4 separate regions of the Homo sapiens genome follow, and all the other regions are linked to region 2. Evidence: promoter capture Hi-C in 16 types of primary human blood cells and fetal thymus (Javierre and others, 2016). All regions are on one chromosome and are shown on one strand. Each heading gives the region's core, a stretch centred on a gene start or on the middle of the fragment in contact. The rest is flanking DNA. Distances are from core to core; before and after follow the strand shown.

Region 1 (2,983 bases), core at 451-2,950, 320 kb before region 2:
ACCTCCCGGGTTCAAGCAATTCTTCTGCCTCAGCCTCCCGAGTAGCTGGGATTATAGACATGCACCACCATACCTGGCTAATTTTTGTATTTTTAGTAGAGACGGGGTTTCACTGTGTTGGCCAGGCTTGTCTCAAACTCCTGACCTCAAGTGCTCCGCCCACCTCGGCCTCCCAAAGTGTTGGCATTACAGGCATGAGCCACTGCTCTCATTTTTAAGGGGATCATGGAGGATAAGGGACTGGAGAATTGGAGACGTTGATTGGTCAGAGGAAGGGGGATGAAATCATCGGGATGAGGAAAGTACATTCTTTGGTGCGTCAGTTTCTCACGGCATTCCTCAGATCAGTGAGCATAGTCATTTCATCAGAATGCAGGACCTGAAGGAATATCTCAAAGAGAAAACTTAATGTTTTATAATTTTCAAGTTGTTATCTACAGAGCAGCTAAGGAGACCTATAGGCCAGGCACAGTGGCTCACACCTGTAATCCTAGCACTTTGGGAGGCTGAGGCAGGAGGAGGATTACTTGAGGCCAGGAAGTCGAGACCAGCCCAGCCAACATGGCAAAACACTGTTCTTTTTGTCTTTAAAAACAATTTTTTTTTAATTAAAAGGAAAAAAAAAGAAAGAAAAAAACAGGCACTCTGTTGCCCAGGCTGGAGTGCAGTGGCTCAGTCTCAGCTCACTGCAATCTCTGCCTGCCGGATTCAAGTGATTCTCCTGCCTCAGCCCCCTGAGTAGCTGGGATTACAGGCACACGCCACCATGCCCAGCTAATTTTTCTATTTTTAGTAGAGACGGGGCTTCACCACATTGGCCAGGCTGGTCTCAAACGCCTGACCTCTGGTGATCCACCCACTTCAGCCTCTCAAAGTGCTGGGATTACAGGCGTGAGCCACTGTGCCTGTCCAAGCTTATGTTTTTTGACTTTTATCCATCCTCTCATATTTTCATTTTTCCCTGCTAAAGGCCTGTTCCTTTTCTCCTTAAAATTGCACATGGAGCCAGCTACTCGGGAGACTGAGGCAAGAGGATCACTTGATCCCAAGAGCTCAAGGCTGCAGTGTGCTGTGATCACACCTATGAATAGCCAGCCACTGCACTCCAGCACCTGGGCAACCTAGTGACACCCTCATCTCAAAAAAATAAAAATTTCACATGGACTCTCTGTCCAATTCTCTTCCACTTAGAATTCCTGATCGTTTCCTTGATCTCTGCAGAACTGTTCCTCAGTAACATGACACTCTCCATGTTGAACCCCTGACCTTACCGTCATCACATTCCTGACACTGCAGAATCTCTGATGTCTTTCTCTGCTTCCTTCCTCTTGCTTTCTTCCCCTTCACATTTTTATCATACATGTTGAGTGAACATTTAGAAAGAAATCCACACAGAGGCCTGGCGCGTTGGCTCATGCCTGTAATCCCAGCACTTTGGGAGGCTGAGGCAGGTGGATCACATGAGGCCAGGAATTCAAGACCAGCCTGGCCAACATGGTGAAACCCCATCTCAACTGAAAACACAAAAATTAGCCAGGCATGGTGGCACGCACCTGTAATCTCAGCTACTCAGGAAGCTGAGGCCAGAGAATTGCTTGAACCTGGGAGGCGGAGGTTGTAATGAGCCAAGATCATGCCACTGCACTCCAGCCTGGGCCACAGAGTAAGACTCTGTCTAAAGAAAAGAGAGAAAGACAGAGAGAACGAGAGAGAGAGAGAGGAAAGAAGGAAGGAAGGAAGGAGGAAGGAAGGAAGGGAAAGAAAGAGAAAAGAAAGAAAGGAAGGAAGGAAGGAAGAAAGAAAGGATGGAAGGAGCGAGGGAGGGAGGGAAAGAAAGAAAGAAAGAAAGAGAGAAATCCACACGGAGATTGCCTATGTCATCATCTCTAACCCACCTTTACTTTCAACAAAGAATTTAACTTTTGTGCCACTGTATTTCAGATTGGGCAACTCCATGTAAAACCAAAGACGCAACCCCTCAGCCGGATATTCTTCCTAAAAGAACATTTCCTGAAGCCAACAGAGTGTGTCTCACGAGCATCAGTTCCCAGCACTCCACATTAAGAGAAGACTGGAGATGCCCCAAAACAGAGGAACCACACAGGCAGGGGGTGAATAATGTGAAGCCACCTGCAGTTGCCCCTGAGAAAGATGAATCTCCTGTTAGCATTTGTGAAGATCATGAAATGAGGAACCACTCTAAACCTACCTGCAGGCTTGTGCCTTCACAGGGAGATTCCATAAGACAATGTATCCTAACACGTGACTCAAGTATTTTCAAGTATAATCCTGTCTTAAACGATAGTCAAAAAACACATGAAAACAACGAAGACGATGGAGTCTTGGGGTGGAACATTCAGTGGGTTCCGTGTGGGAGAAAAACAGAGCTGAAATCAAGCACATGGACTGGCAGTCAGAACACTGTGCATCATATACGTGATGAAATTGATACGGGGGCCAACAGGCACCAGCGGAATCCATTTGGAAAAGCTTTCCGTGAAGACGGATCCCTTAGGGCACACAACACTCATGGTCGAGAGAAAATGTATGATTTTACTCAGTGCGAGAACACCTCCAGAAATAACTCAATTCACGCCATGCAGATGCAGTTGTATACCGCAGAGACAAACAAGAAGGATTGTCAAACTGGGGCAACCTCTGCCAACGCTCCAAATTCCGGTTCACACAAGAGTCATTGCACTGGAGAGAAAACCCATAAATGCCCCGAATGTGGGAGAGCCTTTTTTTATCAGTCATTCCTTATGAGACATATGAAAATTCACACTGGAGAGAAACCGTATGAATGTGGGAAATGTGGGAAAGCCTTTAGATATTCCTTACACCTTAATAAACATTTAAGAAAGCATGTTGTGCAGAAGAAGCCCTACGAATGTGAAGAATGTGGGAAAGTCATTCGGGAGTCCTCAAAATATACACATATAAGGAGCCACACTGGAGAGAAACCCTATAAATGTAAGACATG
Region 2 (3,177 bases), core at 175-2,674:
ATCCCAGCACTTTGGGAGGCCGAGGCAGGAGGATCACTTGAGGCTAGGAGTTTGAGACCAGCCTGGGCAACATAGCAAGACCCCATCTCTATAAAAAATTTTACAAAATTAGCCGGGCATGGTGGTGCACGCCTATAGTCCCAGCTACTCTGGAGGCTCAGGGAGGAGAATCACTTGAGCCTGGGAAGTTGAGGCTGCAGTGAGCCAAGATCGCGCCACTGCACTCCAGTCTAGGCAACAGAGCAAGATCCTATTTTTTTTTTTTTTTGAGATGGAGTCTTGCTCTATTGCCTAGGCTCAAGTGCAGTGGCACAATATTGGCTCACTGCAACCTCCACCTCCCAGGTTCAAGCCTCCCAAGTAGCTGGGATTACAGGTGCACACCACCATGCCCAGCAAATTTTTGTATTTTTAGTAGAGATGGGGTTTTACCACGTTGGCCATGCTGGTCTTGAACTCCTGAGCTCAGGTGATCCACCCGCCTCGGCCTCCCAAAGTGCTGGGATTACAGGCGTGAGCCACTGCGCCCGGCCAATTTTTTAAAATAAAAAATAAAATTAAGAAATAAATACAACATAGGAATATTCAAATGACTGAATTTGAATCAAGCCCCCTGCACGTAGCTGGCCCTGAGAGCCTGTGAGCTGTGGGGGCCGGTGCCCTAACACTTCCTGTCATCACAGTAGTTGTTATTGAAAGCACCAAGTGCCAGGCGTGGTGTGGTGGCTCACGTCTGTAATCCCAGCACTTTGGGAGGTCGAGGCGGGCAGATCACTTGAGCTCAAGAGTTCGCAACCAGCCTGGCCTACATGGTGAAACCCTGTCTCTACTAAAAATACAAAAATTAGCCAGATGTGGTTGCATGCGCCTGCAGTCCCAGCCACTCGGGAGGCTGAGTTACGAGAATCGCTTGAAGCTGGGAAGCAGAAGCTGCAGTGAGCTGAGATCACGCCACTGCACTCCAGCCTGGGTGACAGAGTGAGAGACTCCGTCTCAAAAAAATAAAAGCAAGCAAGCACTGAGCATGAATCCTGGCACACAGCAAGTGCTCAGTTAATACACCCTCTTCTTTCCCAGCCTCTTTGGAATTCAATGAACCTGGCTCTCATCCTGGCTCGGGGACCCTGGATACATCACTTTCCCCAGCCTTAGTTTACCCATCTGGAATATGGGGTCACTATGGGAGGTGTGAGGCTGAAGTCAAGCCCTTGGCGGGTGTACAGCACAGAGAATGCGGACAAGCTTGTGGCCAGCGTCCTCTGGGTTCAGGGCGTCTTCACCTTGGCAGGGATGGCAGAGCCCTCTTGCGCCCCGGCAGGTCGGCGGGGCAGGCCACCCCTTGGATTGTGACACCCACTCCTCTCACCTATGACCTCATCCCCAGAGCGGCCAGTGGGAACCCTGAGGGATCTGTGAGATCACTCATTCCATTCACAGACTCTTGTTGGGCAGCAGCCACCCGCTCACCTCCATCCCCAGGACTTAGAGGGACGCAGGGCGTTGGGAACAGAGGACACTCCAGGCGCTGACCCTGGGAGGCCAGGACCAGGGCCAAAGTCCCGTGGGCAAGAGGAGTCCTCAGAGGTCCTTCATTCAGCGGTTCCGGGAGGTCTGGGAAGCCCACGGCCTGGCTGGGGCAGGGTCAACGCCGCCAGGCCGCCATGGTCCTGTGCTGGCTGCTGCTTCTGGTGATGGCTCTGCCCCCAGGCACGACGGGCGTCAAGGACTGCGTCTTCTGTGAGCTCACCGACTCCATGCAGTGTCCTGGTACCTACATGCACTGTGGCGATGACGAGGACTGCTTCACAGGCCACGGGGTCGCCCCGGGCACTGGTCCGGTCATCAACAAAGGCTGCCTGCGAGCCACCAGCTGCGGCCTTGAGGAACCCGTCAGCTACAGGGGCGTCACCTACAGCCTCACCACCAACTGCTGCACCGGCCGCCTGTGTAACAGAGCCCCGAGCAGCCAGACAGTGGGGGCCACCACCAGCCTGGCACTGGGGCTGGGTATGCTGCTTCCTCCACGTTTGCTGTGACCAACAGGGAGGACAGGGCCTGGGACTGTTCTCCCAGATCCGCCACTCCCCATGTCCCCATGTCCTTCCCCCACTAAATGGCCAGAGAGGCCCTGGACAACCTCTTGCGGCCCTGGCTTCATCCCTTCTAAGGCTGTCCACCAGGAGCCCGGTGCTAGGGGAAGCATCCCCAGGCCTGACTGAGCGGCAGGGGAGCACGGCCCGTGGGTTTGATTGTATTACTCTGTTCCACTGGTTCTAAGACGCAGAGCTTCTCACATCTCAATCAGGATGCTTCTCTCCATTGGTAGCACTTTAGAGTCCATGAAATATGGTAAAAAATATATATATATCATAATAAATGACAGCTGATGTTCATGGAGCATTCTTTGTTTTCTTTTCTTTTTCTTTTCCTTTTTTTTTTTTTCTTTTTGTAGAGATAAGGTCCAGCTATGTTGCCCAGGGTGGTCTCGGATTCTTGGGCTCAAGTGATCCTCCCACCTCAGCCTCCCAAAGTGCTGGGATTACAGGTATGAGCCACGGCACCTGGCCAAGCCTGTCTTACGTTACGTGCCACTGAATCCTCACACCAAGCTGGGAAGGTAAACACTCTTTCAAACATTTCAAACATCCTGGTCTCAACTCCAATCATTCTCAAAGTGTGGTCCCTGGACCAGAAACAGCAGCAGCAGCAAGTGGGAACTTCCTGAAAATGCAGATTCTCAGGTCCTGTTCCAGGCACGATGAATGGCAGTGGGGTCCAAAAGCTGTGTATTGTTCTCTCTTTTTCTTTTTGAAACAGGGTTTTGCTCTGCTGCCCAGGCTGGAGTGCAGTGGTGCAATCTTGGCTCATTGCAGCCTCTACCTCCTGGGCTCAAGCAATCCTCCCACCTCAGCCTCCTGAGTAGCTGGGACTAGAAGCATGCTCCATCATGTCTAATTTTTATTTTTTTAAATTTTTGTAGAGATGGGGTCCTGCTATGTTGCCCAGGCTGGTCTTGAAGTCCTGGGCTCAAGCGATCCTCCTGCCTCAGCCTCCCAAAGTGCTGGGACTACAGACATGAACCACCACGCCTGGCCTTTTTCCGTTTTCTTTTTCTTTTCCTTTTTTTTTTTTTTTTTTATTTTTTGAGACAGAGTCTCGCTCGGTCACCCAGGCTTT
Region 3 (2,821 bases), core at 160-2,659, 280 kb before region 2:
TGAAGGACGAGGCTGCAGTGAGCCATGATTATACCACTGCACTCCAGCTTGGGCAACAGAGCAAGACCTGGTTTCAGAAAAAAAAGAAAAAGGAAATTGGCAAAGCAACTACTAGAACTGAGAAGGGAATATAGCAAGGTAACAGGGCTCAAGGTCAAAATAAGTGATACATCTAAGTATCTAGGCTTGTATGGGCCTAAACGGGAGCAGGGATGGGGCAGAGAAGGGTCACATGGTGAGCAAGCAGGTGAAGCTGGAACTCTGGACCCACGGTGATGTCCCCCTCTGTGTCCTCCTTACTGCAGGCTGGCTGAAGGCGGTGCAGGTCCTCATGGTGCTCTCCCTCATTCTCTGCTGTCTCTCCTTCATCCTGTTCATGTTCCAGCTCTACACCATGCGACGAGGAGGTCTCTTCTATGCCACCGGCCTCTGCCAGCTTTGCACCAGTGAGCACTGCCCCTCCCCAACCCTAATCCCCCAAGAATTGAGCAGAAGGGAGTGGGGTGTGTCAAGATGCTGGGGGCCCTGAGAATGGGCCTCTCGTAGAAAAAAACAACTTTCAACACCCCACGAGCCACAAGAGGTGCCTCCGTGGGCTACATCTCTGCCCCCAGGGATTGCTGGGACTTGTAGTTTTCAGTGGCTAATGATAGTTATGGCTTGTGCGTATGAGTCATCAGGGAACTCAGAGTTTCAGGGAGCCGGGGCTGGGGAAGGAGGTATAGGTAAATAGTTTTGGTCCCAGGGATCGGCCGTGACGTGGGGGGATAAACTAATTAGTACCTCAGTAGAGAGCTCTAAATCATAATAATAATGGTATTTATATCAGCCAACCGCTGTTTCTTGCGTGCCTATTGTGCATCAGATACTTCAAGAAGTTTTGCGTACTTTTTAATTTTTTGACTTAAGGTGCAAAGGGCTAACTTAATCACAGTCAGTTTGGGGAACATTATAGGTTCTTGCAAAGCTTCTCTCTTGGTTTATGAATTTACTACTGCATGTTTGGCTTATAGAAACACACTCAAAAATATTCCTTGGATGGATAGAGAGATATTATTGGACCTAGAGAGATTAAATCAGTTACCTAAGGCCGCGCTACAGTTGCACGGCGCTGGGCGGGGGGGAAAGAACCACAACTCCCAGCAGGCAGCGGCGCTGCCCACGGGCCCTCCGGCGCTTCTTTGCCCCCATGGGATATTGGGAAATGTAGTCTTGAGGGGGCACTGCATGACGTGTGGTTTTCATCTTCCGCAGGCGTGGCGGTGTTTACTGGCGCCTTGATCTATGCCATTCACGCCGAGGAGATCCTGGAGAAGCACCCGCGAGGGGGCAGCTTCGGATACTGCTTCGCCCTGGCCTGGGTGGCCTTCCCCCTCGCCCTGGTCAGCGGCATCATCTACATCCACCTACGGAAGCGGGAGTGAGCGCCCCGCCTCGCTCGGCTGCCCCCGCCCCTTCCCGGCCCCCCTCGCCGCGCGTCCTCCAAAAAATAAAACCTTAACCGCGGGCTCTGCCTTGATCTTCCTTCCTTCCGCCTCCAGGGACCCAGGCTGCGCACGCTTGACCTCTCCTGAACCTAACATGGTCCCCACCGCCAGCTGCTCAGCCCTCAGAATGCCCATCTCCCAGCCCCCAACCCCTTCCTCCCGAGGACACAGGAGCCGGGACCCCAGGCACCTTTTCCCTCCCACAGACCCAAGAGCCTGGGCCTTCCCCGCTCAAGGCCCAAGAGACCTCTGTGAGGCACCTGAATCTAGACCTTCAGACACTTCTGGGAAGAACCTGGATTCTGGGTCCCAGCAGACCCTGTTAGGATAGGAAGCCTGCAGTGACCAGTCCTGTCTCCTTGCTCAAGCTTCTGTCACTCTGTTGCTCTCTCTCTCTGAACCCCGGGCATAGTGTGTGTTTCTAGATTGTCGGACTCTTTTTTTCTTTCTGTCCAGGTTGGAGTGCAGTGGTACGATCTCAGCTCACTGCAACCTCCGCCTCCCGGGTTGAAGCGATTCTCCTGCCTCAGCCTCCCGAGTAGCTGGGACTACAGGCACGAGCCACCACACCCGGCTAGTTCTGGACTCTTTTTTCTTTCTACTAACTTTCCATTTGGGAAGACAGCTTTCTTTTTCCCTCTAGGAAACCAGTCTCCCTCTCTCTCTTTTTTTTTTTTTTTTTTTTTTTTGAGACGGAGTCTCGCTCTGTCACCTAGGCTGTAGTGCAGTGGTGCGATCTTCACTCACTGCAACCTCCGCCTCCCGGGTTCAAGCAATTCTCCTGCCTCAGCCTCCTGAGCAGCTGGGATTACAGGCGCCCACCACCACGTCCGGCTAATTTTTGTATCTTTAGTAGACACGGGGTTTCACCATGTTGGCCAGGCTGGTCTTGAACTCCTGACCTCAGGTGATCCACCCACCTCAGCCTCCCAAAGTGCTGGGATTACAGGCGGGAGCCACCGCGCCCAGCCCAGTCTCCCTCTCTAGGGACTGAACATTTGGGGTCCTAGAGAGGGAGACTTCCCCTGTCTCCCCAAAGGCTGCCTCTAGCCCATATGACACGTTAGCAAAAATTAGGAGGCACCCCTTCTTCTGGCTGACCCAGCCCCACACCAGGATACATGTAGGGGTATGGGCTGGGTCTTACAGCCACCCACCCGTGGCTGTGTTCCTTTGTGCAGTTAACAATCTGCACAGGCCGGGTGCGGTGGCTCACGCCTGTAATCCCAGTACTTTGGGAGGCTGAGGCAGGTGGATCACCTGAGGTCAGGAGTTCGAGACCAGCCTGGCCAACATGGTGAAACCCCGTCTCTACTGAAAATACAAAAAATTAG
Region 4 (3,062 bases), core at 530-3,029, 350 kb before region 2:
AGTAGTACATGCCTGTAATCCCACCTACTTGGGAGGCTGAGGTAGGAGTTTGAGCCCAGGAGTTTGAGTCTGGTCTGGGCAGCATTGCAAGATCCCATCCCCCAAATAATAAATAAACTAACTAAGTAATCAATAATTGAATGAGAAAAGTTAGCTCATATTTCAATATGTTCAATCTTAGGATATATACTTCTAGGCAACCACTTAGTGACAAAAATTCTGTAGAAATCCATCATTGAAAGTTCATTATGTAAATAAATGTGAAGACTAGATAAGAACCACAGAACACAATGACATTGGAAAAAATGCCACAGTAATTCTTTGAAAAAAGAAATGCAGGCCTGGTGCGGTGGCTCATCCCTGTAATCCCAGCACTTTGGGAGGCCGAAGTGGGCAGATCACAAGTCAGGGGTTCGAGACCAGCCTGGCCAACATAGTGAAACCCCGTCTCTACTAAAAACACAAAAACAATTAGCTGGGTGTGGTGGTGGGCACCTGTAGTCGCAGCTACTCGGGAGGCTGAGGCAGGAGAGTGCTTTCAGAGAAACTTCTTGATCACAAGGGGAAATCTGAAAGTTGTCAGAACAAAATGGAGTCACTTATGTTAAGATAACCCTGACAAATAGAGCCAGGAAGGCCATGAAGAGAGGGCTCTTATCCTTGCATGCCTGAAGATGAAAAAGACTCTACAAAACCCACAACCTTACATAAAGGTCTTCACAACCTTAAAAAAATATATATTTCTGCAAGGAATGCTGCCCAGCAACTGCTGGTCCAACCTAGGACTAATGTCACCCTTGTTACTGATCTTTGTAGCCAAGGAAAATTCTGTTAAAACAATATGCAATCCTCCCCATTTCTGTCTTCCTTTATCTCCCTGAATATACACATAGTTTAATACGGCATGTCTATTCCCAATTGCAATGCTCTATTCCCAAATAAACATTGTTTCCGGCTGGGCGCAGTGGCTCACGCCTGTAATCCCAACACTTTGGGAGGCCAAGGCGGGCTGATCTCGAGGTCAAGAGACGGAGACCATCCTGGCCAACATGGTGAAACCCCGTCTCTACTAAAAAATAAAAAATTAGCTGGATGTGGTGGTGCACGCCTGTAGTCCCAGCTACTTGGGAGACTGAGGCACGAGAATCGCTTGAACCTGGGAGGCAGAGGTTGCAGTGAGCCAAGATCATGCCACTGTACTCCAGCCTAGCCACAGAGCGAGACTCCATCTCAAAAAGAAAAAAAAATTGTTTCCCTTAGGAAGCTTTCATATGTTTGTTAGTTAGGTTAACACTTCTAATAATTAAAGTTATACAGTTACAGTGTAAAATTATTAGTATTAACAACATAAACATTGGTATAAAAATTATTATTACAGAAATTAAAACAAATTGAGTGTGAGAGAGATTATTAAGACTGTCCAAGCCAAGTCACTGAAGTCATAAATTTAAGTTATGACAGGATGCCGAGCTTCCAGAGGGTTTTGTTTTTAACAAGGGAGGGGCCCTATTTCCCCTTCTGACACGCTCATATGAACTTCTCACTTTGTCGTACTCCTTCCTTGCTGACTAAGAGGAACAGAACACAGAGCAGCCTGGCGGTGTCCTACCAACAAGCCTCCGTTTCTCCTTCCTGTACACTAGGGCTCCTGAAACTCACCTGGTAAGCGCTCCAGAAAAGCAGCAGGTGGTGACTTTAGGGTAGGACGGGCCAAATGGGAGAATCCCCTTAGGTCGGTTTCTCTGGTTCTCAACTTCTTTTGAAATAACGCTCGCAGAGGAGGTGGGCTTTCTGAGAACTGAGGGAAGTAAGCTCTCAGGACTTCCGGTCGCCATGATGGCTGTGGGCAGTCAATGGGGTCAGTGCAAGCATCTGGGCCATCTTTAATGTGGGCAGGAAAAAAACACGATTACACTTACTTCTGCAGAGTTTATAATATCCTTGTTCATTATTTAAAATAAAATATCTAAGACATAGGTAATAGTATATTTTAAATAAAATTGAAGCAATATATGAAATTTCTCTGGAATTCATCCAGCCACTCTCAGCTGTTACCACTATCCAGAAACGTCTTAATCCGCCTGCATGATTTATGTATTTGGTTTGTATTTTAAATATCATTTTCTGTAATATTTAAAAGTTGTATTTGCTTGGTATCCTGCTATGCATTCTCATGCAATTTGATTTTTAATCAATATTACTTTTTTTTTTTTTTGAGATGAAGTCTCCGTCTGTCACCCAGGCTGGAGTGTAATGGAGCAATCTCGGCTCACTGCAACCTCTGCCTCCCAGGTTCAAGCGATTCTCTTGCCTCAGCCTCCCGAGTAGCTGGAATTATAGGTGCATGCCACCACGCTCGGCTAATTTTTTGTATTTTTAGTAAAGACGGAGTTTCACCATGTTGGTCAGGATGGTCTCCGTCTCTTGACCTCGAGATCAGCCCGCCTCGGCCTCCCAAAGTGCTGGGATTACAGGCGTGAGCCACTGTGCCCGGCCTTGGTTTCTAAATACTATTTTGAAGTATCTGTGGAGAAATGGTTACTTCGAGGGCTGGGGCAGGAATATATAAGATAACATTGGAACAAATTCTGACGCCAGAACATGAAGAAATATTTGAAAAAGGATGGGGCATATTGACTGAACACAGAAGACAAACATGCATGACCTCAGCCTAATCGTGAGAAAACATCAAAGAAATCCAAATTGATAAACATTCTGTAAAATAATTGGCCATGCTCAGCAAAAGTGTCACAATCACAAAAGACAAGGGAAGAATAAGAAACGGTCACAGCCTGGAGGAATCTAAGGACATAACAACTGAGTGCAATGTGAGATCCTCGATTCGATCTTGGAGAAGAAAGAGGACGTTAAGAGAAATATTGACAAAATTCAAATAAGGTCTGCACATTAGGTAATGGTAAGATACGTTGACATCAATTTCCTGGTTGGATACTTGTATTACATATACTATTATGTATATAATTATTATATTACAATTACATATACAGTTGTATATTATATATAATACAATAAATGTATATATATGATTATAATACAATAAA

Evidence for each region. Contacts are between HindIII fragments. The CHiCAGO score rates a contact against its expected background, and 5 or more counts as called.
Region 1: a fragment that was not itself captured here is called in contact with the fragment with the promoter of SPACA4 in region 2 in 1 of 17 cell types (naive B cells); the score reaches 5.1 in naive B cells.
Region 3: a fragment that was not itself captured here is called in contact with the fragment with the promoter of SPACA4 in region 2 in 2 of 17 cell types (M0 macrophages and endothelial precursors); the score reaches 7.7 in M0 macrophages.
Region 4: a contact is called between the fragment with the promoter of CARD8 here and the fragment with the promoter of SPACA4 in region 2, in 2 of 17 cell types (total B cells and naive B cells). The highest score is 5.7, in total B cells.

The regions. Positions count from the first base shown.
Region 1 is chr19:48,283,820-48,286,802 of GRCh38, forward strand. It overlaps ZNF114 (zinc finger protein 114), which reads left to right. Exons shown (of 6, transcript NM_153608.4): 6 at 1,942-2,983. Among named protein-coding and RNA genes, the nearest start is that of ZNF114-AS1, 13 kb to the left of the region's middle. The HindIII fragment of the contact is 1,576 bases long and covers 913-2,488 here.
Region 2 is chr19:48,605,318-48,608,494 of GRCh38, forward strand. SPACA4 (sperm acrosome associated 4) reads left to right here and starts at 1,425. Exons shown (of 1, transcript NM_133498.3): 1 at 1,425-2,397. The coding sequence starts at 1,662. The coding sequence ends at 2,036. All of the region lies in intron 5 of FAM83E (family with sequence similarity 83 member E), which reads right to left. The HindIII fragment of the contact is 9,007 bases long and covers 1,241-3,177 here.
Region 3 is chr19:48,329,047-48,331,867 of GRCh38, forward strand. EMP3 (epithelial membrane protein 3 (MAM blood group)) reads left to right here. Exons shown (of 5, transcript NM_001425.3): 4 at 306-446; 5 at 1,255-1,507. The coding sequence ends at 1,424. Among named protein-coding and RNA genes, the nearest start is that of EMP3, 4.9 kb to the left of the region's middle. RefSeq lists an enhancer at 356-505. The HindIII fragment of the contact is 888 bases long and covers 966-1,853 here.
Region 4 is chr19:48,254,133-48,257,194 of GRCh38, forward strand. It overlaps CARD8 (caspase recruitment domain family member 8), which reads right to left and starts at 1,780. Exons shown (of 14, transcript NM_001184900.3): 1 at 1,660-1,780. It overlaps CARD8-AS1 (CARD8 antisense RNA 1), which reads left to right and starts at 1,543. Exons shown (of 2, transcript NR_040599.1): 1 at 1,543-1,662; 2 at 2,219-3,062. RefSeq lists an enhancer at 1,649-1,888. The HindIII fragment of the contact is 2,537 bases long and covers 1,263-3,062 here.